5 separate regions of the Homo sapiens genome follow, and all the other regions are linked to region 5. The links are contacts of gene promoters, found by promoter capture Hi-C in human tissues and cell types (Jung and others, 2019). All regions are on one chromosome and are shown on one strand. The core of a region is centred on a gene start or on the middle of the fragment in contact, and the rest is flanking DNA. Distances in the headings are between cores, read along the strand shown. Region 1 overlaps STAT3 (signal transducer and activator of transcription 3). Region 2 overlaps ATP6V0A1 (ATPase H+ transporting V0 subunit a1). Region 3 overlaps BRCA1 (BRCA1 DNA repair associated). Region 4 overlaps NBR2 (neighbor of BRCA1 lncRNA 2). Region 5 holds the start of BECN1 (beclin 1).

The links. Contacts are between HindIII fragments. The study calls those that stand out against the background at their distance.
Region 1: a fragment that was not itself captured here is called in contact with the fragment with the promoter of BECN1 in region 5 in 1 of the 25 tissues and cell types used here (hippocampus).
Region 2: a contact is called between a fragment that was not itself captured here and the fragment with the promoter of BECN1 in region 5, in 1 of the 25 tissues and cell types used here (pancreas).
Region 3: a fragment that was not itself captured here is called in contact with the fragment with the promoter of BECN1 in region 5 in 4 of the 25 tissues and cell types used here (bladder, dorsolateral prefrontal cortex, liver and 1 more).
Region 4: a fragment that was not itself captured here is called in contact with the fragment with the promoter of BECN1 in region 5 in 1 of the 25 tissues and cell types used here (bladder).

What each region holds. Positions count from the first base shown.
Region 1 is chr17:42,313,813-42,319,965 of GRCh38, forward strand. STAT3 (signal transducer and activator of transcription 3) reads right to left here. Exons shown (of 24, transcript NM_139276.3): 22 at 3,370-3,412; 23 at 2,977-3,089; 24 at 1-1,988. The coding sequence ends at 1,933. Among named protein-coding and RNA genes, the nearest start is that of STAT5A, 28 kb to the left of the region's middle. The HindIII fragment of the contact is 8,739 bases long and covers 1-6,153 here.
Region 2 is chr17:42,515,703-42,521,852 of GRCh38, forward strand. ATP6V0A1 (ATPase H+ transporting V0 subunit a1) reads left to right here. Exons shown (of 22, transcript NM_001130021.3): 22 at 5,325-6,150. The coding sequence ends at 5,418. Among named protein-coding and RNA genes, the nearest start is that of MIR5010, 4.6 kb to the left of the region's middle. RefSeq lists an enhancer at 905-1,404 and a silencer at 1,848-1,897. The HindIII fragment of the contact is 4,137 bases long and covers 2,557-6,150 here.
Region 3 is chr17:43,111,557-43,117,131 of GRCh38, forward strand. BRCA1 (BRCA1 DNA repair associated) reads right to left here. Exons shown (of 23, transcript NM_007294.4): 3 at 4,170-4,223. Among named protein-coding and RNA genes, the nearest start is that of BRCA1, 11 kb to the right of the region's middle. The HindIII fragment of the contact is 5,789 bases long and covers 1,186-5,575 here.
Region 4 is chr17:43,138,232-43,143,680 of GRCh38, forward strand. NBR2 (neighbor of BRCA1 lncRNA 2) reads left to right here. Exons shown (of 8, transcript NR_138145.1): 5 at 1-129; 6 at 426-691; 7 at 4,226-4,345. It also overlaps a transcript of BRCA1 not described here. Among named protein-coding and RNA genes, the nearest start is that of NBR2, 15 kb to the left of the region's middle. The HindIII fragment of the contact is 9,487 bases long and covers 1-5,449 here.
Region 5 is chr17:42,821,708-42,827,908 of GRCh38, forward strand. It overlaps BECN1 (beclin 1), which reads right to left and starts at 2,575. Exons shown (of 12, transcript NM_001313998.2): 1 at 2,448-2,575; 2 at 2,041-2,172. The coding sequence starts at 2,170. MIR6781 (microRNA 6781) reads right to left here and starts at 2,236; the gene lies at 2,173-2,236. RefSeq lists enhancers at 1,802-2,368, 2,369-2,937, 2,804-2,933, 2,938-3,504. The HindIII fragment of the contact is 8,869 bases long and covers 1-6,201 here.

The sequences.
Region 1 (6,153 bases), core at 1,742-4,241, 510 kb before region 5:
GTGTTGCTGGAGAAGTAAGAGCTCTGCATGACACATCAACTGTCTCCAGGCAGGAGGACTGGGGCGAACCCTGTTCATCTTAGAGAAGGTCGTCTCCCCCTTAATTCAGAGACCAGCTAATTTGATTTAACAAACAGAATTCCACAGAAACTCTGATCAGCTGAGGCAAGGTGGTTTTGAGTTGCCAAATCCGGCCATGCCTCTGAGTCAGAGGCAGCCCATCCAGCACGTGCTAGGTGTTCCCATACGCACAGGAGAGGCGAGCTAGCCAGCCAAGGCGGGCAGGCGGGGAGGCCCTCTAGCTGTTCTGCCTCACCTGTGGGGCCCCAGCAGGGAGGAGTCACCAGCCTCAGAGGGAGGCCAGGTATACACCCTCATACGAGGGCAGACTCAAGTTTATCAGTAAGCCTTTGCCCTGCATGAACTGAATGAAGACGCCATTACAAGTGCCACTGGATATCACCAAGAAACTGGCTAAGAACCATATTCCCTGAGCTCAACCAGACACGTCGCTGGGGCCCCATAGTGTGCATCATGTCCAACCTGTAACTCTCTCCCCCTCTTCTTCCATGAGGTCCTGAGACCAGGATTCCTAAAACAAACAGGATGAGGGACCTTTAGACACGCAAGGAGACATGCCTCTAGCAGGATCAGGGGGACTGGGGTCGGGAGGGTGGGGCAGGAAGGAAGCCAGAATCAGAAGTATCCCAGCCCTGATAAGGCACCCACAGAAACAACCTAGCCTCTGAAACAGCAGATCAAGTCCAGGGAGAAAGGGAGTCAAGGTTGTAAGCACCCTCTGCCCAGCCTTACTCACTAAAAGGCCAATACATTACAAAGGAAAATAAGTCTATTTATAAAAAAAAGTCTAAAATGCTTAGATTCTCCTTAAACCTTCCTATTTCAACACCAAAGGCCAGGTTGCAGCTTCAGATGTCTTAAGGGTTTGACCTGAAGCCCGTTTCAGGGATTATATAAATTACCAGCCTGAAGGAAGCTGAATGCTTAAAGCACCAAGGAGGCTGTTAACTGAAGTTTCTTTTTTTTTTTTTTTTTTTTGAGACAGAGTCTCAGACTGTCGCCCAGGATGGAGTGCAGTGTGCAGTGGTGCAATTTTGGCTCACTGCAACCTCCGCCTCTCAGGTTCAAGCGATTCTCCTGCCTCAGCCTCCCGAGTAGCTGGGACTACAGGCGCCCACCACCACACCCAGCTAATTTTTTGTACTTTTAGTAGAGACGGGGTTTCACCGTGTTAGCCAGGATGGTCTTGATCTCCTGACCTTATGATCCGCCTCGGCCTCCCAAAGTGCTGGGATTACAGGCGTGAGCCACCATGCCCGGCTGCTTAAGTTTCTTAAATACAGAAAGGCTATGCTGATACAGTGTTTTTTGCCCTTTAATTGTTATTATTTCTTAATTTAAAAAGAAACCTAGGGCTTAGATAGTCCTATCTTCTATTTGGATGTCAGCAAGGTTAAAAAGTGCAATGCCAGGAGTATGTAGCTATAGGTGGCCTGTGGCATTTGCTTACAGAAACAGGCAGAAGGATGCCGCAGGCACCAGGAGGCACTTGTCTAAGAACAACAACAACAATAACAAAAAGCTGCTGAGAAAGGAGGGCAGGGGAACAAAACAACACAAGACATTTCCTTTTTCTCCCTCTAGCCACCCCCCGCCACATCCCCTGATCATGGGTCTCAGAGAACACATCCTTATTTGCATTTAGATAAAAGCAGATCACCCACATTCACTCATTTCTCTATTTTTAAAAGTGCCCAGATTGCTCAAAGATAGCAGAAGTAGGAGATTAAAAAAAATCTGGAACCACAAAGTTAGTAGTTTCAGATGATCTGGGGTTTGGCTGTGTGAGGGGTGGCAGAATGCAGGTAGGCGCCTCAGTCGTATCTTTCTGCAGCTTCCGTTCTCAGCTCCTCACATGGGGGAGGTAGCGCACTCCGAGGTCAACTCCATGTCAAAGGTGAGGGACTCTGGAGGGACAGACAGGGAAAACTAGTTCAGTTGTCCACCCTCTGCAACTGGCAGGCCACGCCCCCAGCCCTTCAGAGGACAGGGCCCAGGCTACCACTGCTATCCAATCTCCTGCCCCTTAAGGCCCAGGGATGGTCAGAAAAGCCAGATTTACCCTCCTCCCTGGAGGACCCTGCCTCGGGAAGGGTCCTTTCTCATTCCCACCTTAACTGATTCCCAGAGCTCCATGTTTACAGAAGCTCTAAGGCTGTCCTGAGATCTTCTGCCCTTGATCTACTGTTTAATTCAGGAGCCCCGAGACACACGTGGCCACCAAGCATTTGAGATTTGGTTTGTCCAAACTGAGCTGTGCTGTGGCTGTCAAAAGCCCACTGGATTTTAAAGGCTTAGTATGAAAAAAAAGAATAAAAAAAGGTCTCAACTTTTTCTTTTTAGTTTAGTTTTGTTTATTTGAGATGGAGTCTCACTCTGTCGCCCAGGCTGGAGTGCAGTGGCACGATCTCTGCTCACTGCAACCTCCACCTCCCAGGCTCAAGCGATCCTCCCACCTCAGCTTCTTGAGTAGCTGGGATTACAGGTATGCGCCACCATGCCCAGCTAATTTTTATATTTTAGAGATTTTGGTCAGACTGGTCTCGAACTCCTGACCTCAAGTGATCCACCCACCTCGGCCTCCCAAAGTGCTGGGATTACAGGCATGAGCCACTCACCCAGCCTCAACTTTTTCTGAAATGTTAAATTGAGAGTATGTTGGATTTAGTGGGTTAAATAAAATATATTGTAAAAATTAAGTTCGTCTATTTCCAGTGTGGCTGCTAGAAGATTTATACTCACACATGTGGCATTCATACCATCTCTTTTGGAAAGCAAAGCTCTAGAATCTCCTACCATTCCGAGTGACCAGCTCTCGGTGTGTACATGTGAGAGCATCACACAAAGGGGACCAACTTCCCTTATAGGGACAAAGTCTGTCAACCAAATACTCACCAAACTGCCCTCCTGCTGAGGGTTCAGCACCTTCACCATTATTTCCAAACTGCATCAATGAATCTAAAGTGCGGGGGGACATCGGCAGGTCAATGGTATTGCTGCAGGTCGTTCTGTAGGAAATGGGGGGCAGCAGGAGGGGAAACGGGGGGTTGACAAGACACAATGGAAAAAAAAAAAAGAACAAAACACACACACACAAGCCATCAAACTCTGGTCTCCAACAGAAAAATAAAAGCTCAAGCTTTTTAAACACACAAGGTCACTTTGAGTACTAAACATAGCCCAGGGGCTTCCAACCTTTGGCAGATTAACTCTCACCCAGTGTCCCATTCCCAGGGATAACTGAGGATATTAGAAATGAAGGCAAAACGGGGAAAGGAAGCCACTTACGGTGTCACACAGATAAACTTGGTCTTCAGGTATGGGGCAGCGCCTGGGAAGAAGAAAACCAGTTTTCTTACTGACTGTGACTTCGCATTCAGTAAGCAGAGCTGGAGGAAGCCATCTGCCTCGGCAGGACTGATTTGAAACTCACTCATCCTCATGCCAAGATTGTCTGGAAAGCTCCATCTGCCCCTCAGGGTTGTCTGCCCTCATTTATACTATTTGATCTCCCAGGCACTAGCAGCTGTGAACTTCAGTTCTTTGCACAAAGCTGTCCTGAGCTGCAGAGACTTTTCAGCATAACCTTTTCCCACCTGACCCTAGACTAATGCCACCTTGTGTCCCTTCTTTCCCTAGATTATGTAAAAGTTTAACAGCCTCCACGTGGTCTGAGCATTCTATTCCGGCCTGGTCATATCTCTTAGATAACTTCTCTGCATGCAGGAACCGAGCCTGTGTAGTCTTTGCATGGTGTCCAGCCTAAATACCAATATCACCAAGTCTTTAAAGAACATGGAGACTGCTAATGCTTGTGGTTCCAAAGCCAAAGGTTATATCTCTTATTCCTACCAGCACTAATCTGGCCTCTACCACATTTTTGGATGAGGGCATGAGTAACTTTCTAGTTGGATAAATACGTCAATCAAAAAGCACCAAAGAGAATGTGACTTTGTAAGGCAGTACAATTGCTTCAACTAGAAGACCGGAGACCTGGGTCCAGGTACATCTTCAATAGCTAAGAGACCTGGAGCAAGGCATGGTCTCTCTCTTTTGTTGCTGTTGTTCTTATTGTTTTGAGACAGAGTCTCACTCTGTTGCCCAGGCTCAAGTGCAGTGGCACAATCTCGGTTACCGCAACCTCCTACTCCCAGGTCAAAACGATTCTCCTGCCTTAGGCTCCCAAGCAGCTGGGACTACAGGTGGCACCACCATGCCTGGCTAATTTTTGTCTTTTTTTTTTTTGAGACGGAGTCTTGCTCTCTTTCGCCCAGGTTGGAGTGCAGTAGCGCCATCTTGGCTCTCTACAACCTCTGCCTCCAGGGTTCAAGTGATTCTCCTTCATCAGCCTCCTGAGTAGCTGGATTACAGGCATCTGCCACCATGCCTAGCTAATTTTTTTTTTGTAATTTTAGTAGAGATGAGGTTTCACCATGTTGGCCAGGCTGGTCTTGAACTCCTGACCTCAGGTGATCCATCTGCCTCACCCTCCCAAAGTGCTGGATTACAAGTATGAGCTATCATGCCCAGCCTTGGCCACAATGCCCAGCCCATATTCTCTTTTATGTATAAAATAAGAGGGAGGGGGAAGACAAGGTGCCAATTTTCTATGAGCTTTGTCATTTATAATTCTTGTTCTACAGTTAGAAATGCGTTGACGGGAATAAAATGAATTTTAGATGCTGAATGCTTACACCAAGAGGTCAAGGAACCTTGGGGATACTGGCATGAAATCTGGGGAATTCAGGTGAACAAACCATTGAGAAGGCATGGGGCAGGGTGAGGTGGGCTGAGAACAGCACGGTCATAAAACATGAGGCTTAGACAGAACCTGAGGGATCAGAGAGCATGATGACCATGTGAAAGAAGGCACTGCAGAGTGGCTCTTGGGCTGCCATCTGAGTTTACTTTGGGCCAAGAAACTGATCAATTCAGTGCAGAATTCAAAGGAGCTACTGAGGCAAGACTCTAGTGTCTTATAAATCCAACTGTTTTGGCCCAGCCCTTAGGGAGCTGACACCCTAGACAGAAAAGGATTTAATTCTCCAGCATTCAAGATAGCTGAGGCCAGGCACAGTGGCTCATGCCTGTAATCCCTGCACTTTGGGAGGCTGAAGCAGGTGGATCACTTGAGGCCAGGAGTTCAAGACCAGCCTCACCAACATGGGGAAACCCTGTCTTTAATGAAATTACAAAAATAGCTGGGCGTGGTGGCACGCCTGTAATCCCAGCTACTCAGGAGGCTGAGACAGGAGAATCACTTGAACCTGGGAGGCAGAGGCTGAAGTGAGGTGAGATCGCACCACTGCACTCCAGCCTGGGTGACAGAGTGACAGACTGTCAAAACAAAACAAAAACAAAAACAAGGCTGGGCACTGTGGCTCACACCTATAATCCCAGCACTTTGGGAGGCCCAGGCGGGAAGATCACTTGAGGTCAGGGGTTCGAGACCAGCCTGGCCAACAGGGTGAAACCCGGTCTCTACTAAAAATCCAAAAATTAGCCAGGCATAGTGGTGCATGTCTGTAATCCCAGCTACTCAGGAGGCTGAGGTATGAGAATCTCTTGAACCTGGGAGGCAGAGGTTTCAGTGAAGCAAGATCGCGCCACTGCACTCCAGTCTGGACGATAGAGCGAGACTCAGGCTCAAAAAAAAAAAAAAAAAAAAAAAAAAAGCTGAGAAAAATGACTTCATTGTGTGGCTTTGTACAAGATTGTAAATGTACTTTATCTAATTTGTAAGTGGCTCCGAACCTCTCCCTCAAGCCATAAGGAAATGCTATGTGGGCTTCCAGTAGAGAAGGAAGAGAGAAGAGTCTTGGGAGGATAATCTAACCTGAGACCCTCATACCATAATACTCTTGTGATGGAAATAGAGAGGAAATGGTCACATGCTCATCGTCCTGAAGGCACCCATTTTAAAATAACACAGGGACACCCCCACACCCGTCACCACACTCACATGGAGTCCCTCAGGGCACACTCCTCTCAGCAAGGCAAGGCAAATTACTCAAGTAATTAGTTCCTTTCTCCTGATGAGTGCCTGGCCCCTGAGGAAACGCTGACATCGCT
Region 2 (6,150 bases), core at 3,375-5,874, 300 kb before region 5:
GCTTGAACCCAGGAAGTGGAGGTTGCATTGAGCCAAGATCGCGCCATTGTACTCCAGCCTGGGCAACAAGAGTGAAACTCGGTCTCAAAAAATAAAAATACAGGGTGTATTTCACATAAACAACAAATAATTTTTTTAGTATGAGTATTTCCCAAATGTGCATGGGATATGCTTATACTAAAAACTGGGGCAGTCTGTATTTTCTGTGGCTGTTCCACCTCAGACTCCACTTCTTTGGGTCTCTATTTTCTCCTTTATGTTGTGATTCTCTTTTTGGGGGTCTCAAAACCCCAATGTCTCTGGAAGTTCTGGCCCCTCTCCCCAGAGGAGCACTCACACACTTCTCCTGTTTTACAAGCATAGGGGTCTGACTCACTGGTGTGCCTTAGAGGCCCCTGGATGGGATGCTCTGTGGTGTTCATGATCTCAAGGCCAGAAGAGGACTATGAATGTCTCTCTTCGTTCTCAAAACCTGAAGAAAATCCAGCATCTGAACCTGAGAAACTCATTCCCCACTCCCCTTTATCTTTGATTATTCTCATGGCTGGGTGACCCCTGAGCCTCCTCAAAGATTCAGCTGTGGGTTTTTCTGAATGATGGGCGGAGAGTGAGGCATGGAAGGGCAAGACGTGGCTAGGGTGCACTCTTCTTCAAAAGCCCTGCTGCGTCAGTAGACCTGGCTTCCTCTGGCCTGGCTCTCTCCCTCCTGGCCTCCCTCCTCCCCACCCAGCTCATCTGGCTGGCCTCCCTGTTCTAAGCTTATCAGCCGACCCCCGCAAGCACACTTCCTCAGCCCTCCTCAGTGCACGAGAACCTCTGAGGACTCACTTTTTCTTGCCCCTTGGCCTCCTTTCTTTTCTTTTCACTCCTGTCTCTTGAGCCCTGGGTTTGAGGGAACAGTGACCACCTCACCTTGATTCCAGCCCACGTGGGTAGCCGGTCATCTCCCTGGGCAGGGCGGGAGCAAGGCACTGTTGCAGAGCAAGGCCGCCTGGGCTTGAGCCTCATTTTGTTGCCAGAAGATTGCTTCCTCCTCAGGCTCACCTGTGGCCTCCCCGTGTCTTCCCAGGTCCCCCTGAACTGAAGTGATGAGTGGCAGGACAGCAGGCTCCGGAATTGGGCGACCTGGGTTGGAATTCCAGCACTGTCACACCAGGCAGGGAACCTGAGCAGAACATTCACTGCCAAGATTACTGTGAGCAAGTAGGAAGTAATGCACACACCAAGTGCTGCCACAGCAAAAGCAGGTGCTCTAGGATGGGTAGTGGCTGCTCTGCTTAAAAGTGGGATGCCCTTACTGGGTGCGATGGCTCACACCTATAATCCCAGCATTCTGGGAGGCTGAGGCAGGCAGATCACCTGAGGTCAGGAGTTCGAGACCAGCCTGGACAACATGGTGAAACCCCATCTCTACTAAAAATGCAAACATTAGCTGGGCGTGATGGTGGGCGCCTGTAATCCCAGCTACTCGGGAGGCTGAGGCAAGAGAATCGCTTGAACCCAGGAGATGGAGGTTGCAGTGAGCCAAGATCGCGCCACTGCACTGCAACCTGGGCGACAGACCGAGACTCCGTCTCAAAACAACAACAACAACAACAACAACAAAAAAACCTGGGATGCCCTAGAGAGAGGGTGTCTGCCTGGGGTCCCCCATAAAAAGACTGCTTTTAGCCTGTCTAGAGTGAGAGAAGACCCCAGAGGAGGCAGAGGATACCATCAGAATGCCCTCAGGTGCTGTTTGCAAGGAACAGCCTCCCCATATATGTCGTATTTATTTTGGCAATAGGAGTATTGGGTAGGAGAGGAAAAAACAGTGCAAACCTCCTTTGTGCAACTTCCAGAATCTCGTCTTTGGAGGGCTGTTCCCGTGACACGAGTGGGGCGCCTCCCCCACCACTAAAACAGAAGTGAATGAAATTGGTGCTTGTGCGCCCCCTCCTGGCAAAATGCGGCTGTGCGTCCAGGATGCCTGGATCTTCCCTGTGGCCCAGGACTGCAGGAGGCGTTCTGAGCTGTGGCCCTCTTACCAGGGGTGGAGCCTCTGGGGCTGCTGAACCAGCTGTAGGGATGGTGCTGCTGTTCTTCCTGGCATCCATCCTAGGCATCTTCATACCTCCCACTTTATCCCTGCTGTTTCCTGATTCAAGGGCTGCCCCATTATACAAGTTCTGGTCTCCTCAGTGGGGACAATAAGAAAAACATTTGATTCGATAACATATAAACCACTAGTGTGAGATTCATGCAGCATCATAGGAAGGGGGGTGATGTGTTTGAAAACAGTGAGCAGGCTAATGTATTAATCTGCTAATTCTGTCTCCTGAGTTTTCTCTCTTTTCCTCCCTCCTGCCACATGAAGTGTGCTTGGCTTCTTACCTACCATAATTAGACATCTTTTCTTCCTCAGAGAAGGCATGAGACAGGGATTTGATTGTAGTTATCACTGTAAACATCAAACTGATTTTTATGCAGAACTATTGCCCCAGGGCATACCTTCCAAGGAACCTGGTCTCTCCTTACCTAGCGAATTCCACATACACATAGATGTACACCTACCTGTACACTCACAGATTGGGTGGTGATTAAAGGGACAGAATCGGGGACCAGCTTCTTGTTAGGAATGCAGTGTTGCCACGGCATGACAGCATGGAGCAGTTGAGGGAATGGCTGCCCAGGAGAACTCAGAACTCTTGAAATGTAGTTCCAGGCTGCCATCATTGCCCTGATATTCAGGCCGTCAGACAGATGTGTGTTGTAGGCCCTGAACGGCACAGAGAGTGGCAGAACAGGCTACATAAACAGCTCAGCCCAGAATTGTCTTTCCAGACTGCCTGCCCTCAGTCACAACCCCCACCAGGGAAGGGAAGCGGCCCCAAGACTCCTTCCTCCTTCACCCACTCGAGGAAACAGAGTTCCTGTTACGTGGCATGAATGATGTCTTTTGGCCCCAGTTAATCCCTCTGAGTCACCAGGTGGCCTTTGCCAAGTGCTGGAGCTGGAAGAGATGATAGAGACACTCATCTGGCGTCCTGAGGCTCTCCTCACAGCTGTTGAATTCTAGAGGTGCATTTCAGTGTCTTGGGGCATGGCAAGACTTTGGAGGCTCCCTGAGCAGAGCAGTGGAGATGCCCAAAAAGAAGGAAGAACCTAGGATGGCAGATGGGGCCCCCCTTGCCCTGGGGAACTTCATGTTTGTACTTTCTCAGGAAGCACACATTTCCCCAGTTCAGCGGGAGAGAGTGGGGAGACTAGCAGGGAAATTGCTTTCCAGCTTTGTGCTGGGTGGTTGGGGTGAGGGTGGCCACGGAAGGAGGTGAAATCAGGCTGACCTCAAGATAGACCCAAGATGTCCCAGTTCTGGCCGCTCTAAGTCTCTAAAGCAGCAGCTGGTGGGAGGGGCAGTATTGGGCAGTATGTCAGGGAGGCCACCTGTCTGCTCACACAGTACAATTGATGTGCCCCTCCCAGGCATATATCCCTCTTCCTCCTTGCTGGGCCCCCATGGGTAGATAAGGTGACTGGAGGGGTGCCAAGAAAAGGGCGGTGCCCCCACAGGCATCTGAAAACAAAGCTGCTGCTCCATTTGCCCAGTTTGAAGATTAGAATGGTTTTGTGATTAGCCAGGAGGGGGTGGGGGTCAGAGTTCTGGACACCTCACTGGAGTCGGGGGTCAGCATACCCTACCAAGGCTGACATTCACTCCTAGGTAATGGCCTGGGACCCTCAGGTGACTTGTCCACTCTCTGGCTATGTATTGTTGAATGAAAAGGGGACATGTAAATCTCGTTTCAGCTGTTCTGAAATAACCCTTGCCACATGGGAACACAGTCTATTCAACATGAAGAATTCAAACCTAACACAAGTGGGTGAGAAGCAGGAACCCACTGCTAGGCCCCACCGCGTTCCCTCAGAGGTGGTCTCAGTAGCTGGAACTTGGAGAAGTAGTTTTGGTGGGGTGTTGGGACGTGGGTGAATCCAGGTCCTGGTTTGGAATTGCTCTGGTGGGAACCGTCAGCTAACGTCAGTTGGAAGCTCTGTGTCCTCCCCCTCCTGAGTCCTGTTTTTCCTGGAGGACCTTGGCCCACCCCTGTGGAATGTGGGGATGTGGGGAAGAAAGCTGACTGCTTTTACTCCCACTCAGAAAATTCGGTTGCGCTCTTCTTCAAGGGGGTGCTCCTCAGCCTGCACCCCAGTGAAGGGGCCTCTGAGGAACTCCCAGTGCCACTGGCAAACAGTCTGTAACCTTTGGGCCCCAGCCACCTCCCAGCCCCTGTTCTCTTAATTCCTGCCTTCTTGGCTTGGAGGGAGGAATCTCCATTTGTAAAAGCTGAGTTAGGGAACTAGAGGGTTCCTGAAGCTTTAAAGCGCCTCAAAGCCCTCACCCTGCACGTGACCTGTCACCTGGAGCCTGCCCCAGCCCCCACGCCTGCCTGTTCTTATAGGGGCTCCGGTGCCTCCAGGGTCACACAGCACCATGTGGAAACTATTCCTCAGGGCAGCTCTCCTTGGCCTTTTTATCCCCTGAATCATGCATTTTTCTGCCCTTATTTGGTGTGGTTTGGTTGCTGGGCAGCTGTCCAGGGTGAGTTTGCAGGAGGAAGCACAGCCAAGCAGCCTCGCTCTGCTTATGGGACAGTCTTCCTCCCACCCTCCCTGAGAGTGAAAGGGCCCCACAGAGACCATCAGGCATGGATGCTGAACTGCTGGGAAGGGAGCTCAGGCTTTTTCTTTTTAGTCCCCAAGAGAAGAATTCTTTCTCAGATGTTTTTGTGGTTGGAGAATATTTTTGCCATTGCTTTGAGAAGACTTCCCCTCCTAACTCCCCCTCTTTCCTTGGAATTTCCTTCCTTAAATGGAAAGCCTTCAACATTCACTCCAAGCTCGCCCTTTTGCTCCCCCAAGGAAAAATAACAAGCAAACAGAGGTGCTTGCCCAGTGTCTCTGGAGGGGCTTCCCTTAGAGGTGGGCTGTGTGATCCCCTGCCAGGAGGGGGCGATGGGGGCCACTTGTTCATTAACGATGTTAGGCTCAAGGTAACTGAACTTTTTTTGCACATGCCTCTCTGCAGAGAGTTGTGCATAAACACACTGCTCGGCAGGACAGAGCAAGATTGGGAACTGAGGGCAAATCCCTTCCTCCGTGCGTCGAACTCTTGATCCCAGGCCTTAAAAGTGGGATCTCTGCACTCTGGGCTTTCTCTAGCTTCCCCAGGGAAGGGAGGCTCGGGGTGAGGTGGGCACGGGGCATCTTTCCTGCCCAACTGTGAAGTCCTAAAAAGCTTCACAAAGTTTCTATTGAATGACAGCTTTCTTCTTCTCTTTCTCCAGGGTTGAGTTCCAGAATAAATTCTACAGCGGGACCGGTTTCAAGTTCTTACCCTTCTCCTTCGAGCATATTCGGGAAGGGAAGTTTGAAGAGTGAGTCCCTGTGAGGGCCGTGTGCCCCATGCTACCCTCCCCGCCTCCCTCCACAGTGATCAGCTGTGCCTCTCTGCCTGTTGGTTGTGATCTGTGGGCACCAGCTCATTCGTGTCACCCTGTCTGTGAGTCATTTAGATAGAATAGTCCTCCTTGGGTCTCCCACCACCCCTAGCTTTGTGTGTAGTGTAGTGATTTTCTGGCTGTCACTCATACTCACTGGGCACCAGCCTTGCCCTCTTAGCCTCCATCCATCCAGACAGCCCTTCCCACCTCCTGGTGGTGAGCCAGTCTGCATTCCCACGCCATCCCAAAGCCCTTTCATCTTCCCCGTGCATTGTAGATGGAAGGAGCACCCATGCCATTCACATCTAGACTTTGAGTTCCCTGCATCTGCCACCGTAGTTTCTAGCAGGAGTAGTGGGGGGAGTAATACAGATTCTTCCCTAGAAGGGGACACTGGTAACATGTCCCACTCTTGGATTAGCAGGGGTGGGTCCAGGAAGATGATATTTGCGTCTTTTGCCCACCCCCCTGGCATTCAGCTGGACCCAACTAGGCCATCATGAGTGGCTTCTCCCTGTCATCCCCAGGGGTCATAGGATATCTACACCGCCTTTCTGACCCCACCCTGCACTCCCATCCTTTCCTCTCTCCCCGTTCATGCCCTGCACTACATAGCACAGCCGGGATGCTTGGAACAGAGGCCTTGGCTGCTCCGCAGTGCACAGGGCTT
Region 3 (5,575 bases), core at 2,830-5,329, 290 kb after region 5:
CACACTTGTAATCCCAGAACTTAGGGAGGCCAAGGCGGGCAGATCACGAGGTCAGGAGATCGAGACCATCCTGGCTAACACGGTGAAACCCTTTCTCTACTAAAAATACAAAAAAATTAGCTGGGCGTGGTGGCAGGCGTCTGTAGTCCCAGCTACTTGGGAGGCTGAGGCAGGAGAATGGTGTGAACCCGGGAGGTGGAGCTTGCAGTGAGCCGAGACTGCACCACCGCACTCCAGCCTGGGCGACAGAGCGAGACTCCGTCTCAAAACAAAACAAACAAAAACAAACAAACAAACAAACAAAAATAAAAAAAAGATTTCAGAACTTTAGGCTTGCTTGGGTCAATAAAGTTGTTTTATTTTTAGCAATTAGAGTTTATCCGTAGAAAATACAATTAATACAACAAAAGCATGGGGGTATCGCTCCCAGGCTCCCAGCTTTCTCATCATATAGATCAAAGTGTTATTCAGATTATATTGATATTACAGAAGAGATTTCATGAAAAAGTCGATCTATCACATGGGCATTATACTGGACTTTTTTTTTTTTTGAGACGGAATCTTGCTCTGTCGCCCAGGCTAGAGTACAGTGGCACGATCTCAACTCACTGCAGCCTCTGCCTCCTGGGTTCAAGAGGTTCCTCTGCCTCAGCCTCCTGAGTAGCTGGGACTACAGGCATGTGCCCCCATACCCAGCTAATTTTTGTATTTTTAGTAGAGATGGTGTTACCATATTGGCCAGGCTGGTCTCGAACTCCTGACCTCGTGATCCGCCCACCTCAGCCTCCCAAAGTGCTGGGATTACAGGCGTGAGCCACCACACCCGGCTTTGGACTTTTAATTCTAATATAACATTCAAAACACAATTTAAAATATGGCTGGCCCATCTCTACAAGAAACTTAAAAATTAGCTGGGCAAATGCCATGTACCTGTAGTCCTAGCTACTTGAGGGGCTGAGATGAGAGATTGCTTGAACCCAGATTGCAAGGTAAAAGTGAACTATGATCACACCACTGAACTCCAGCCTGGGTGTCAGAGGGAGACACTGTCTCAAAGAAACAAACAAAAATATATATGTGTCACACACACACATATATATAACATATTTATATGTATACACACACATATATCTTTATGACTGGTTCTTTCCTGACTATCACAATCCTGACTATCACAAGCTTGAAACCAAGCTTCTCACTCTTCTCCAGTTGCCAACTCTAATCCTCTCAATCTCAACAGCTGTTTTTTGTTGTTTTTTTTTTTTGAGACAGTTTTCACTCTTGTCGCCCAGGCTGGAGTGCAATGGCGCAATCTCGGCTCACTGCAACCTCCGCCTCCCAGGTTCAAGTGATTCTCCTGCCTCAGCCTCCCAAGTAACTGGGATTACAGGCATGCGCCTCCACGCCCGTCTAATTTTGTATTTTTAGTAGAGATGGGGTTTCTCTATGTTGGTCAGGCTGGTCTTGAGCTCCTGACCTCAGGTGATCCACCTGCCTTGGGCTCCAAAAGTGCTAGGATTAGAGGCGTGAGCCACCGTGCCCGGCCTCAACAGCTGTCTTTACCTCCAACTTCACTGGGCTCAAAGCACCTCAGCATCTTCCTGTAGAATTACTCTCCTTTTCCTTCATTACTGTTTATGAGTAATAATCAACTCTTTCTTACATCCTTTTTCTATTTCCAATCCCTTCTGCCTCCTCTTGGACCTTCTCTTTCTTGCAAATGGCTTCCCATCTTTGAGGGCTTCTTCCTTTTCTAACACAACTCCTATACACATATGCAAAGTTAGCTTATTTTTCCTGGATGTATTTTCTTTTCTTTTCTTTTTTTTCAGACAGAGTCTCACTCTGTTGTCAGGCTGGAGTGCATTGGCATGATCTCGGCTCAGGGCAACCTCTGCCTCCCAGGTTCAAGTGATACCCCTGCCGCAGCCTACCAAGTAGCTGGGACTACAGGTACGTGCCACCATGCCAGGCTAGTTTTTTGTGTGTTTTAGTAGAGACAGTGTTTCGCCATTTTGGCCAGGATGGTCTTAATTTCCTGACCTCGTGATCCGCCCACCTCGACCTCCCAAAGTGCTGGTATTATAGGCGTGAGCCACCGCGCCCGTCCTCTATTTTCTTTTATTTGTACATTTGCTCGTATTATTATCTCTGCCTATAAGCCTATAATTTCCTTCTTCCACAAGTTCTCAAAGCAACTATATTCATAACTTAATCTCTCTTTTTTTGTTAAGAGACAGGGTCAGCCAGGCGCGGTGGCTTACACCTGTAATCCCAACACTTTTTAAGGCCAAGGTAGCTGAAGTCAGGAGTTTGAGAGCAGCCTGGCCAACATGGTGAAAACCCTGTCTCGACTAAAAATACAAAAATTAGCTGGGTGTGGTGGCAGATGCCTGTAATCCCAGCTACTCAAGAGGCTGAGGCAGGAGAATCGCTTGAACCCAGGAGGTGGAGGTTGCAGTGAGCCGAGATCACACCACTGCACTCCAGCCTGGGCAATAGAGTGAAACACCATCTCAAAAAAAAAAAAAGACAGGGTCTCACTCTGTCATCTAGGCTGGAGTGCAGTGGTGTGATCATAGCTCACTACAGCTTCGAACTCCTGGCCTTAAGTGATCTTCCTGCCTTGGCCTCCCAAAGTGCTGGGGTTATGGGCAGGAGCTACCACACTGGGCCCTTGAGTCCCTGTAATAATAGTATAGTATGTTCAGCATTTGTTACTCAAGCTGACAAGAAAACATACAGTTCATTCCAGAAAGATTCTCATCCAGATAAATTGAAAGCCCCAGGGCTTTAAAGGTTAATCTTTAGCTCTCTGTAGTAAATACTGGGACTTTTTTTTTTTTTTTTGAGTCTCCCTCTTGTCGCCCAGGCTGGAATGCAGTGGCATGATCTTAGCTCACTCAGATGAAAATTATGGACTATCTTCCCAGAAAAATGTACATGGCCATAGTTTTGAATACAATTTAAATATAATTCTAGGAAATTCATAAAGACTATTCATAAACCCCAAGTTAAGAACTCTGGAATTTAAAAATTCCTCAAAGGATACATAAGAAATTGATCATTGTGGTTGTCTGGGGAGGGAACAGGGAGGCAGGGGTTGTAGGGTAAGAGGGAAGTATACTTTGCATCATATACCTTTTTGTGCTAATAAACTTTTTACCAAGTACATAGTTTGTACCTGGTACCAGGTTATGTACCAGGTACATAAATACTTAAAAACAAATTAGTTGACATTTAAGGTAAGATGTGAGCCATAGCTTAACATAAAGAAAAGGAGAAAGCCCACTTGTTCTACTAAATTACCTACTCTACTTTTTCTGAAATTCTTTTATTAAGAAACAAACATTTTCATTTCAAAAGACAAGATCATCAAATACGTAAATATAACTTGAATCACTGCTATAAATGAATTTTGGCCTAAATAGAAACTGGTATCAGGTCCTTTCCTGTCTTCACAATGATTACAAAGCGGGCAAACACTGACCCTTAGAAGGGGGAATGCATAAGGATATGCAGAAATGAACAGAAAGGAGAAACTGGGAAGGCTCAAACACAATGTGCTTATTTCAAAACTGCTTGCAGTTTGCTTTCACTGATGGACACAAAAAATACAAAACACTGTTCAAAATGATGTTACATCCTAATAGATAATATATGTCAGTCGGGTGTGGTGGCTCACGCCTGTAATCCCAGAACTTTGGGAGGCCGAGGCAGGTGGATCACAAGGTCAGGAGTTCGAGACCAGCCTGGCCAATATGGTGAAACCTTATCTCTACTAAAAGTACAAAAATTAGCCAAGCATGGTGGCGGGTGCCTGTAGTCCCAGCTACCTGGGAGGCTGAGGTAGAAGAATCGCTTGAACTCGGGGGGCGGAGGTTGCAGTGAGCCAAGATCATGCCACTGCACTCCAGCCTGGGCGACAGAGCGAGACTTTGTCTCAAAAAAAAAAAAAAAGATAATATATGTCAAAACTTTACCAGGAACTATGATTACAACCAACTTTTGATAACTATATACTCTCTGAGAAAGAATGAAATGGAGTTGGATTTTTCGTTCTCACTTAATTGAAGAAAGTAAAGCTTCTATAAAGTTAGGTGTTTCCTGGGTTATGAAGGACAAAAACAAAAGCTAATAATGGAGCCACATAACACATTCAAACTTACTTGCAAAATATGTGGTCACACTTTGTGGAGACAGGTTCCTTGATCAACTCCAGACTAGCAGGGTAGGGGGGGAGAAAAAGAAAATAAATGAGGCTCAATAATTTATTTAAAAATAAAGCTATTCTTAGTGAATAAGTTCAACTTTGAGCTGTTATGACTGAGTCAACATAAGGCCTCAAGTTCGTTCAATATTTATTAAATGTCTGCTGTGTCAGGAACTGAGAATACAGCAGAGAATACGATCCTTACCTTCAGTGAGCTTTCAGATATCAAAACAGAATTATATTGATCCCTTCAATACTCTATACTATCATCAGCATTTAAAAGATTAGTTGATAATAGTTCGTACGAATTCATTTCCAGTGATATATTTTTCTGCACTATCACTGTGGGTGCACATCTCATCTTTAAGCTCCATAAAGACAAAATTTTCTGCTTATATTTCTTTTGAATTCCTTCCTAGAACTTTTTTTTGTTTACTGTAAATGCCTTTTTAACTTAATATGGAAAATTTCAAGTATTTCAAAATTTCAAGTAAATAAAATAATAAAATGAACTATATGGACCATCACCCTGGTCCAACAACCATCAACTCATGGCCAAGCTGTTTCACCCATATCCACCCCTACCCCAGATTATTTTAATTATTATTACTTTTAAGATAAGGTCACACTCTGTCACCTAGGCTGGAGTGCAGTGGTGCAAACATACCTCACTGCAGCCTTGAACTCCTGGGCTCAAGCAATCCTCCCAGCACGGGGTTTACAGGCATGAGCCAACACACCCAAACCCAAGTGTCTTCTTTTTTTTGAGATGGGGTTTTGCTTTTGTAGCCCAGACTGGCATGCAATGGTGCGATCTCGGCTCACTGCAACCTCTGCCTCCCAAGTTCAAGTGATTCTCCTGCCTCAGCCTCCCAGGTAGTTGGAACTACAGGCGTGCGCCACCACGCCCGGCTGATTTTTCGTATTTTTAGTAGAGTTGGGGTTTCACCATGTTGGCCGGCTGGTCTTGAACTCCTGACCTCAGGTGATCCGCCTGCCTTGGCCTCCCAAAGTGCTGGGATTACAGGTGTGAGCCACCATGCCCAGCCCCAAGTGTCTTCTGATCTATAGGTGTCTCTTACTTTTTCTCCCTTGTCATTTATTTTTAAAATTAGGTCATTTGACCTGTGGAGTTTCCCCCATTCTGGATTTTGCTGATTGTATAACCCTATGGTGAGGTTTAACTTGTTCCTCTAGCCTTATTTCCTATAAACTAGACTTACAGGCTTAATCATTCAGGTTCAACTTTCTGGCAAGAACACTTTACAGATGGTACTGTGTACTCTTATTAGATCACTTCAGAAGAGGCATGATGTTTGGTTTGTGATTACTTTGTAAAAACAGTGTAATAAGTACTCACTA
Region 4 (5,449 bases), core at 2,755-5,254, 320 kb after region 5:
CTGAACTTCCCTGCGGGCACATTTTCTCTGGCAGCCTTTTTCAATGAGAGCTATGTTTTCTCCGATACTATATGGCCTGCGGACCGCTCAGCTTTCATTCCAGTGAAAACATTCCAGAACAAACTCCAGGTCGGTCCCAGGTGTTTCTCCAATCAACTCAGGGCATGGTTGTGTGTCACCTGCTGCCCAGCTAGAATGACACCTCTCCAGGCCTCTGACTTAGCTAGGTCTCCACCATGTGACTCCACCGTAGACTCCATGCCTTCTTCTTTTGCAAAGCCTCGGACACCCAAACACCTACCAAAAGTGGGTAGGGTGCCAGGACACCTCCAAGTATAAGTAGGGCTCCCCACCATGCCTGGATGTGGAGTTGTGCTGCAGAGTGGTGGCTGCTCATGACATTCATTTCACCCCTTTCTGTGCAGGTGCTGGAAGCCCAGGAAGCACACATCAAGGCTCCCTTGCCAGCAGGGTGCTGCCAATAAAAGGTAGTCACGTGGAATTTGGAATGTGGAAAGGAGGTAGAAGTCATCCTTTCCTCCCCTGTAGCAGCAGGCGTGCAGGCTCTGGTGGTCAGCTGGACTCCATACTCCCCCACCAGTCACCAGCCTGGGGACCGTGGGGCTGCAAGGACCTCAGCAGCGGTGTCCCAAGTTTCCTGACTTCTTCCATCCTCTGGAAATCAGCTGTGGTAAAGTAGCCTGAAAGCCAGTGGTACAACCCCCTCCCCACAACCTTCACCACCTCTAGCCCCTCCAATGAAAAGCACTAATTGCCTATATACAACCCCTTTTTGTTTGAAATATCTAGAGTAATTTCTGTTTTCCTATCTGGGGTAGTGTAACGTAAGAAGAAATATACATTTGGTCTCTGCCCCCGGTTCCTAACACAAAGCTCCTAAAACCCTTGGAAATTCCTGAAAGATGGGGGTGCTAGGAGCATTGTCTTTTTTTTTTTTTAAATTTATCATTTTTCTTTTCTCCCAGGTGTTTTTTCCTTTTTTTTTTTTTTAACTTTTATTTTAGATTAGGGGATACATGTGAACGTTTGTTATATAGCTAAACTTGTGTCACATGGGTTTGTTGTACAGATTATTTCGTCACCCAGGCACTAGGCCTAATACCCGATAGTTTTTTTCTTTTTTTTTTTTGAGATAGAGTCTCGCTCTGTTGCCCAGGCTAGAGGCACGATCTCGGCTCACTGCAACTTCCGCCTCCCAGGTTTACGCCATTCTTCTGCCTCAGCCTCCTGAGTAGCTGGGACTGCAGGTGCCTGCCACCACGTCCAGCTAATTTTTTATGTTTAGTAGAGATGGGGTTTCACCATCTTGGCCAGGCTGGTCTCGAACTCCTGACCTTGCGATCCACCCACCTCGGCCTCCCAAAGTGCTGGGATTACAGGCGTGAGCCACCGTGCCTGGCCAGTACCCAGTAGTTTTTTTGGCTCCTCTCCCTCCTCCCACCCTTCACCCTCAGGTAGGGCCCAGTGTCTGTTGTTCCCTTCTTTGTGTTTATGAGTTCTCATCATTTAGCTCCCACTTATAAGTGAGAACGTGTGGTGTTTGGTTTTCTGTTCCTTTCTTAGTTTGCTGAGGATAATGGCCTCAAGATCCATCTGTGTTCCTACAAAAGAGATGATCTTGTTCTTTTTTATGATTGCACATCTTTTGTTCTAACGTTTGGTCCTTCACCTTGGTTCCTGACACAAGGATTCCTAAATCCCTTGGAATTTTCTGCATGATAGGAGCGTCCTTTGTTCTCATGAGGTGACTCTTGGTGGGCTCCTTATTTGGGGACTGGTCACCAAAAATACCTAACTATGGTTGGAAGCTTAGTGCTTTCAGCCCCATTCCCCATCCTCTGGGGTGGGGAGCAGAGCTGGAGCTCGATCATGCCTGCGTGACAAAGCCTCCAGAAAAATCCTTGAAAGACAGGACATGGAGAGCTGCTGGGTTGGCGAACACATCCATGTGCCGGGAGGATGGTGCACCCCAACTCCACAAGGACCCTTCCAGACCTCACCCTGTGTATCTCTTCATCTGGCTGTTCATTTGTATCCTTTAAAATATCCTTTGTAATAAATCAGCAATAGTAAGTAAACTATTTTCCTGGGTTTTGTGAGCTGTTCTAGCAAATGGTCAAACCTGAGGAGGGAGTTGTGGGGACCTCCAATTTATAGCCAGTTGGTCAGATGCATAGGTGATGCTTGGCCTTGCACCTGGGGTCTGACGTGAGGGCGGTCCTGTGTGACTGAGCCCTTAACCTGTGGAGTCTGGTGCTCACTCTGCTTAGGGCTTCTCTGCCTTTGTAGTGTCCTGTCTAGAAGGCCTTTCCTTCCTCTTTTCTGCTCAGAAAACTTTTCTTCCACTTCCCTTCTTCTAAGCCATCCCTTATATCTACTCCTTTCCAGCCGACCAAGAGCAGAACCACGGCTGGCTCCACTGCCAGCATGCTGTCCCACACTGTCTCCTCAGGATGTATTCAGATGTCCGGCCCTCTCCCTAGTCTAGGAGCCCTTTGAGGAAAGGGATGCTGTCCTAGTCAACTCTTTCCCAGCGCCAGGCACAACGTCTGGCATGTTCCATCTTTTTCATGGACTCTCCCCAGGCGGCCTGACCTTCCCTCCTCTGAACTGCTGCATTTCCTGTCTGCATCATGTTTGCCCTAATCAGACATCGCCTTATTTCATCATCCTTTAAAAAATGCTTTATTTCTCTGGCAGATTTCATTGGAATCAGAATTTTCTTTCATTTAGTAGCTGTTGGCCTTGTGTCCACCTTTCTGTGGCACTCAGGTCTCACTTAAGAGCTGGCCCTCTGAGCTATGGTTTGCCGTCAGTGAGATGGAGACAGAGGCAGCCCTAGGCAGTCATGTTTTGTTCCACCTGACCCTGGGCACCCCTCCCCCTCCCAGGCTACTGGCAGGGATGGGCACCGGCCTGGGAGAGACAGCTCATCCACAGGCTGGCCCAGCAGAAACTCTGGGCTCAGACAAAACTGCTCAATTGAGGACAAACTGGGCAAAATAGAATCTTACTTTGGGAGTTTTTAGAAATATGGTTGGGGTAGCATTGGGGAATAATAAGAATTGTAGCCAGGCATGGTGGTGCATGCCTGTAGACCCCCAGCTACTCTGGAGGCTGAGGCAGGAGGATCTTTTGAGCCCTAGAGCTTGAGGCTGCAGTGAGCTATGAATGCACCACTGCACTCCAGGCTGGGTGACACATCAAGACCCTGTCTCAAAAGAAAAATGTGCACATTTGAGATACATAAAAAAATTTTTTGTTATATAAAAAAAAATTATCACCGGGCACGGTGGCTCACACCTGTAATCCAGCACTTTGGGAGGCTGAGGCGGGCGGATCACGAGGTCAGGAGATCGAGACCATCTTGGTTAACATGGTGAAACCCCATCTCTACTAAAAACAAAAAATTAGCCAGGTGTGGTGACGGGCACCTGTAGTCCCAGCTACTTGGGAGGCTGAGGCAGGAGAATGGCGTGAACCTGGGAGGCGGAGCTTGCAGTGAGCCGAGATCGCACCACTGCACTCCAACCTGGGCGACAGACCGAAAAAAAAAATTTAGCATAAAAATGTGAAATTATGTAAATATGCCAAAATAGGAACCTGGAGGTGCTTGGAATCCAGACTTTGGGAGCCCAGCAGTGCAAGGATCTCTACTCTTGGCTTCTTTTTTTCTTGAGATGGAGTCTTGCTCTGTTGCCCAGGCTGGTGTGCAGTGGCCCAGTCTCGGCTCACTGCAACCTCCGTCTCCTGGGTTCAAGCAATTCTCCCTGCTTCAGCCTCCTGAGTAACTGGGATTACAGGAGCACATGACCATCCCCAGCTAATTTTTGTATTTTTTAGTAGAGACGGGGTTTTGCCATGTTGGCCAGGCTGGTCTTGAACTCCTGACCTCAGGTGGTCCACCCACCTCAGCCTCCCAAAGTGCTGGAATTACAGGCGTGAGCCACTGTGCCCAGCCTAGTCTTGGCTTCTTGTCAACTCCCTGCTTATGTCCAACACTCACCCCTATTACAGAGCTGGTGTGGGGGAGTTTCTGTCCTGGTGACTTAACAGTGTAATTAAAGTGCTTAGCACTGTACCTGACCACAGCTGGTGCCCAACAAACAGCAGCTGCCATCATTCTCACCATCCGTATGTTATTGTTATTGACTCTTCAATGGCAACCATGGCTTATCCCCCTTTATCTCCCTATGTCCTACAGCCGGACAGAGGAATGGTTACAAGGCTTTGAGCCTAACAGTGCTGGCTTAAAACCGTAACTTGTCGTTTTGGATGTGTGGCCTTGGACACTTGGGCAGGTCACCTACGTCCTTCTAGCCCTGTATCCTTATCTGTCAGATGATGATTTTAAAAACTATGCTTCCATGGATTGCTGGGCTAAATCATATAAGACTGTAAAATGCCTAACCCAGGATTTGGCATCAAGTAAGCAAATTGTAAATGGTAGCTGCTGTTCTGCCTATGACTATTTAGTCTTGTGCTTTACTTTTTATTTAATTATTTTTAAGACAGAGTTTCAGTCTTATTGCCCAGGCAGGAGTGCAATGGCGTGATCTTGGCTCACCACAACCTCCACTTCCCAGGTTCAAGTGATTCTCCTACCTCAGCCTCCTGAGTAGCTGGGATTACAGGCATGTGCCACCATGCCCGGCTAATTTTTGTGTGTGTGTGTGTGTGTGTGTGTGTATATATATATGTGTGTGTGTGTGTGTATATATATGTGTGTATATATATATGTATATATGTATATATGTGTGCATATATATGTATATATGTGTGTATATATATGTATATATGTGTATATATATATGTATATATATGTGTGTGTGTATATTTATTTATTTATTTATTTATTTTATTTTTTTTGGTAGACACGGGTTTCTCCATGTTGGTTAGGCTGGTCTTGAACTCCCAACCTCAGGTGATCCGCCTGCCTTGGCCTCCCAAAATGTTGGGATTACAGGCATAAACCACCATGCCCGGCCTAGTCTTGTGCTTTAGACTCAAATATTTGTTGGCCCACTGAAGTCACCACACAGATAAAGACACTTTTCATTCTCAGTAAGGAACTTTGGGAGATAATTGGGGCAGGCAGCTAAAGAACAGGTGTCTTTTGTCTGACATCAGCAAACTCATGGAAACCGATGGGCGGCTCACTTTGCTTAGAACCCCCACAGCACGCACACAGGGCTGCTTCCCAGTCACACTGCTCCTGGGATGGGGGTGCTGCTGTTCTGCAGTTAGCACTGTTCTTTACTTCCTATTACTGAACTGCCAGCGTTCATTTGTGTTCAGTTAGGTAGATTACCAATTCTTGTTCATTCAGATTTTCTTTTGCTCACTAATGTGTTTCATGTTCACTAACTTACCAAATGTGATTTATTAGTGACTTTTTTTTTGAAGATGGAGTGGAGGAATCCTTGCG
Region 5 (6,201 bases), core at 1,325-3,824:
CAAGTCATGACAATTTACCTTTCTAAAAAGGTGTGAAAAACATAATAATTGAGCAGAGGATGGGAGGTGAATGGAGGTGTAGACAACATAAGAATGTGAGAATATGGCTGATTATTGAAGCTGGATGATGAATACAAGGCAGGCTATGCTATTCTCTTGACTATATATGTCTCAAATTTTCCATAATAAAAAGTCAAAAATTGTTATTAAAAGAGTTTAAGAGGCGCGGTGGCTCACGCCTGTAGTCCCAGCACTTTGGGAGGCTGAGGCGGGCAGATCACAAGGTCAAGAGATCGAGACCATCCTGGCCAACATAGTGAAACCGTCTCTACTAAAAATACAAAAATTAGCTGGGCGTGGCGGTGTGTGCCTGCAGTCCCAGCTACTCAGGAGGCTGACGCAGGACAATCACTTGAACCCGGGAGGCAGAGGTTGCAGTGAGCCGAGATCGCGCCACTGCACTCCAGCCTGGCAACAGAGTGAGACTCCGTCTCAAACAAACAAACAAAAAAAAGAGCTAATTTCCCCTCAAGAAAGAGAAACCAGGTAATAATAGCAGCTAATACTTATTGAATACTATTTGCCCAGCAAATTCCTAAGTGTTTCTGTGGTTTGTCATATTTGAACTTTATAAATTCTTTATGAGGCAGTTTAACGTTTTACAGAAAAAATCAGAAACCAAGGCTTGGAGAAATGAAGTAACTTGCAAAAAGTTGTTCAGCTAGTAAATGACAGCCAGGATTTAAACCCAAGCAGGCTGACTCCAGGCCCATAAGCTTATTTAAGCTGCCTATTCAGTCTTCTCTTTTACTGTCTGACTTAATCTGAATTCTTCTGACTTTGCGGGATTTTGGGGTTTTTTATTTTTTTTAATTATAGAGACAGGGTCTTACTGTGTTGCCCAGGCTGGTCTCAAACTCCTGCTCAAGTGATCCACCTGCCTCAGCCTCCCATAGTGCTGGGATCACAGGTGTGAACCACCACTCCTGGCCTTTTTAATTAATTTATTTTTTGAGACAGGGTCTTGCACTGTTGCCCAAGCTGCAGTGCAGTGGCATGATCATAGCTTCCTGCAGCTTTGACCTCCTGGGCTCAAGTGATCCTCCTGCCTCAGCCTCCACCACCCACCACACCCAGCAATTTTTTTTTTTTTTTAGAGACAAGATCTCTGCTAGGTTGCTCAGGTTGGTCTTGAACTCCTGGGCTCAAGCGATCCTCCCACCTCAGCCTCCCAAAGCACTGAGATTACAGGCGTGAGCCATCACATCCAGCAAATTCTTCAGACTTTAAGACTCTACTCCATTTACCAGCTGTTGGACCTTAGGTAAGTCACTTAACCTCTCTGTGCCTCGGTTCTTCATCTGAAAAATGATGTAATGACGGTATACCCCGTACGGGTTGTTACAGGGACTAAATGAAGTAATACGTGTAATGCACTTGGTATTACTATATAGTAAGTCCTCAAAAAATACCATTTATTATTATATATACATATTCCTTTTCTCTGAAACAGCAGGAGCAGAAAATAAGGATCTTTCTTTTGCTACTGAAAGCTCTCTTTTTTTGAGACGGAGCCTCGCTCTGTTGCCCAGGCTGGAGTGCAGTGGTGCGATCTCAGCTCACTGCAAACTCCACCTCACCGGTTCAAGCGATTCTCCTGCCTCAACCTCCCGAGTAGCTGGGACTACAGGCACGTGCCATCACGCCCGGCTAATTTTTGTATTTTTAGTAGAGAGGGGTTTCGCCATGTTGGCCAGGCTGGTCTCGAACTCCTGACCTCAGGTGATCTGCCCGCCTCGGTCTCCCAAAATGCTGGGATTACAGGCGTGAGCCACCGCGCCCGGTCGGAAAGCTCTCAGAAGTCCACAATGTCAGAATGCTTTATGTTTCCAAGGAGAAAACAGGGAGCCAGATGAAGTGACTTTCCTAGGTTCACACGATGAGTTTGTGGCAGACTACACAGCCACCATAAGAATTATATCACCAAAGCTGCCCACCTTCCACATTCTTGACCACCCTCTTTCCAAGGGTCTCGCTGACCTGTGAGTTCCTGGATGGTGACACGGTCCAGGATCTTGAAACTCGTGTCCAGTTTCAGGGGCTGGCTGCAGCGCTGGCACACGAAGCTCACCTGCATGGTGCTGTTGTTGGACGTCTTAGACCCTTCCATCCCTGAGGCCGTGGAAAAGAGGCAACATTAGGGAGAAGCGACGCCCTTGACCTCCGGCCCGGGGTTACCACATGCCTTGGTGACGATGGTAAAGGGAGGGAAGTCCCAACCTGCGCCGTTCCCTCTAGGAATGGTATGATACGGGGAGGACCTGCTTCCGGGACAGCCTGAGCAAAGGCAGTTTAGAGCCCAGGGTCAGGGAAGGGACTCCAATAAGAGCCGTGAGGGTTCCCAGACTCCCTTCTAAGGTCCCACCTCAGCCCCCGATGCTCTTCACCTCGGGAGCCCGGAGCCCGTCACCCAAGTCCGGTCTACCGCGGAGGCACTGTGGCCTCGGGTCGGCCCCGGAGCGAGGCCTCCAGAACTACCATCGCTCTGTCTTCAGCGACTTCCCGGTAGCCGCCGGAAAACTTCCGCCCGAGACCGGACGTGACGCTACGACGGCAGCAGGAGCTCCTGGTCCACAGGCTCACAGGCCCGGCAGCGGCCCCCAGAGGCCGGGCTGGGAAAAGCAGCGGGCTTCAGCGGATGAACAAGGTTACCACGGGAAGTGTAGGAGCCAAGGCCGCAGAGAATGGGGAGGCTCCGCTATTCTCTAAATTCAGGGGGCGGCGGGCGCGGTGGCTCACGCCTGTAATCTCAGCACTTGGGGAGGCCGAGGAGGGCGGATCACGTGAGGTCAGGAGTTCGAGACCAGCCTGGCCAACACAGTGAAACCCCGTCTCTACTAAAAATACAAAAACTAGCCGGGCGTGGTGGGGCACGCCTATAATCCCAGCTTAATCCCAGCTACTCGGGAGGCTGAGGCAGGAGAATCGCTTGAACCTGGGAGGTGGAGGTTGCAGTGAGCCGAGATCGGGCCACTGCACTCCAGCCTGGGCGACAGGGCAAGGCTCCATCTCAGAACAACAACAGCAACAACAAAAGGCCGGGCATGGTGGCTCACGCTTGTAATTCCAGCACTTTGGGAGGCCGAGGCGGGCGGATCACAAGGTCAGGAGTTCGAGACCAGCCTGGCCAAAATGGTTAAATCCCGTCTCTACTAAAAAATACAATTAGCTGGGCATGGTGGCGTGCGCCTGTAATCCCAGCTACTCAGGAGGCTGGGGTAGGAAAATCGCTTGACCCCCGGAGGCGGAGGTTGCAGTGAGTCGAGATCATGCCACTGCACTCCAGCCTGGGCGACAGAAGGAAACTCCATCTCAAACCCCCCCCCCCCACACACACACACAAAACCAACAAAAAAAGAAAGTGATATTCAAATAAAAGCTTGAAGAAGGTGAGGAAGGAATTCTTACCTGCATCTTAAGGAAGAGCATTCTAGGCCAAGGGAACAGCAAGAGCACAGAGGGTACCTGTTTGGGGATTAGCAGAGGCTGGTGTGGCTAGAAGATGGGCAACGAAAAGAGATACAGAAAATGGGGTGAGGGAGGTAAGAGTGTTGAGCTACCACCTAGGCTCTTATAGGGATTGTAAAGCTCTGGCTTTCACTTTGAATGAGATGAGATGACTGGGTCTTGAGCAGAGGGACTTACTTCATTTTTAAAAACAACTTTATGGGGTATAATTTACATACCATAAGACTCACACTTTTTAAATGTACAGTTCAATAATTTTTAGTAAATTTACACAGTTGCCCAACTATCACCATAATCCAGTTTTAGAACATTTCCCATCTCCCCTTGCAATCCCCCACTGTGGCCTCCCAAAGTGCTGAGATTACAGGTGTGAGCCAATGTGCCTGGCCAAAAGTTTTTCATTTCAATAAAGTCCAATGTTTATGCTTTTGGTGTAAAAGAAACCACTGCTTAACCCAAAATTGTATGTAGTATTGTCTATTTTATTTTTATTTTGAGACAGTGTCTTACTCTGTTACCCAGGCTGGAGTGAAGCGGAACAAACAAACATGGCTCACTGCAGATTTGACTTCCTGGCTCAAGCAATCCTCTTGCTTCAACCTCCAGTGTAGCAGGGACCACAGGTGATCACTACCATGCCCAGCTAATTTTTAAAATTTTTTGTAGAGATGTGGTCTCACACTGCACTCCAGCCTCGGTGACAGAGCGAGACGCCATCTCAAAAAAAAAAAGAGATGGGGTCTCACTTTGTTGCCCAGGCTTCTGCTTTTTAAATTTAACATTTTTCTATGTTGCTACACAGTTATTGTAGTTATCATGGCTACATTACACTACACTAAATGTACTGCCTTAGTGTATTTTTTTACCGCTGGAAATTCTACTATTTCCCCTGTGGGTGATTACAATAATCCTGCAATGAAGAGCTGGCTACTTATGATAGAGACTCATAACTGGGACTACAGAATTAAGAGTGTGTCAGCTATTTAATGTCTCTTCCTTAACACTGGGAATCATTTTCCAAAGTGCTTGCACATAACTATATTCTGCTTCCAGTAATGTATGAGGAAGCCTGTTTTCATATTGCCTTGGCCAGTATTGGGTATCATATATTTGGGGAACAAAAGCAAAAAATGGCACTTCCTTGTTATTTTAATTAGCATCATTGATTGCTGGTAAGGCTGAACTTTTTGCTATGTATTTGCTTATTGTAGTTACTTTTTTTTTTTTTTTTGAGATGGAGTCTTGCTCTGTTGCCCAGGCTGGAGTGCAGTGGTGCCATCTCGGCTCACTGCAACCTCTGCCTCCTGGGTTCACGCCATTCTCCTGTCTCAGCCTCCCGAGTAGCTGGGACTACAGGCGCCCACCACTACACCCGGCTAATTTTTTATATTTTTAGTGGAGACGGTTTCACCATGTTAGCCAGGATGGTCTCAATCTCCTGACCTCCTGATCTGCCCGCCTTGGCCTCCCAAAGTGCTGGGATTACAGGTGTGAGCCACCATGCCCGGCCTTTTTTTAAAAAAAAAAAAAAAAAGAGACACGGTCTCACTCTGTCACCCAGGCTGGAGTGCAGTGGTGCAATATCAGCTCACTGGAATCTCCGCCTCCCGGGCTCAAGCAGTAGTTACTTTTTTCTGAATTATGTTTGCATTCTTTGATTATTTAGGTATTGGATTATTAGTATTTTTCTCAGTATTTTTAGTAATTTTTCATGAATGCTTTAATTATTTTCCAGATGTTCAGGAAGTTTTAAATTTTCAAGTCAAATCTGCTTATTTTTCTTGATGACTTATACTGCTTAGAAAGTTATTCCCACCTCCAGAAGTGTCTTTCTTTTCTTTTAAATGTATGTGGTTTCTTATAGTTGGTATTGGATGTGATATGTGGAACTAGATTGATTTTTCTCCCGGTTTTGTGACTAGGGATAGTGTTTACAATCCTTCTTCCTCTTGGCTCTTTCAGCATGAAAGCCCCTTTAGGGGAGGTGACTGGAATCATCCCCAAAGAATTCTCACCTAGTCCTGGTGTGGCTGCTTCATAGTCCTGCGTTTCTTCCTGCTTGGCTGTCCCTAACATCTCAGAAACGCATAGAGAAGTAACGGGCTTCTAGAGAGGTAGGGGGTATAGTGTTACAACTGAGGATTTGGAAGTTGAGACCACCTGGTTCTTTACCATCCACTAACCATGTGACCTTATGCAATTTATTCAACTGTTCTGTGCTTTGTTTTCTTATTTACAAAATGAGATTAATAGTATACAGTAGTAAATATCATAAAGGGTAGTGTGATAAATGAGCTGATACATTTGGAATGGAGGGGAATGACTGTTACATAGTGAATGCTCTGTGTATCCTCACACTTGGGAAGTATATGTAATCAGTGTATGTAGTGCTTGAGGGATTGTGAATAATACACAACATATCCTCAGTCATCGATTCAACAGATGTTTATTGAGCATCTACTATGTGCCAGTCCCTATTCTAGGTCTGAGAGGATATACTGGTGAACTGCTCTAATAGTTTATATTCCAGAGGAGAGAATTTGACAGTAAACATGTAACCAAGTTAATAAGATAATTTCAGATAATGGCAGATATTATGGGTTGAATGATGTCCCCCAAAAGATGTTGAAGTCCTAACATCTGGGACTAACACATGGGAATGTGACCTTTTTT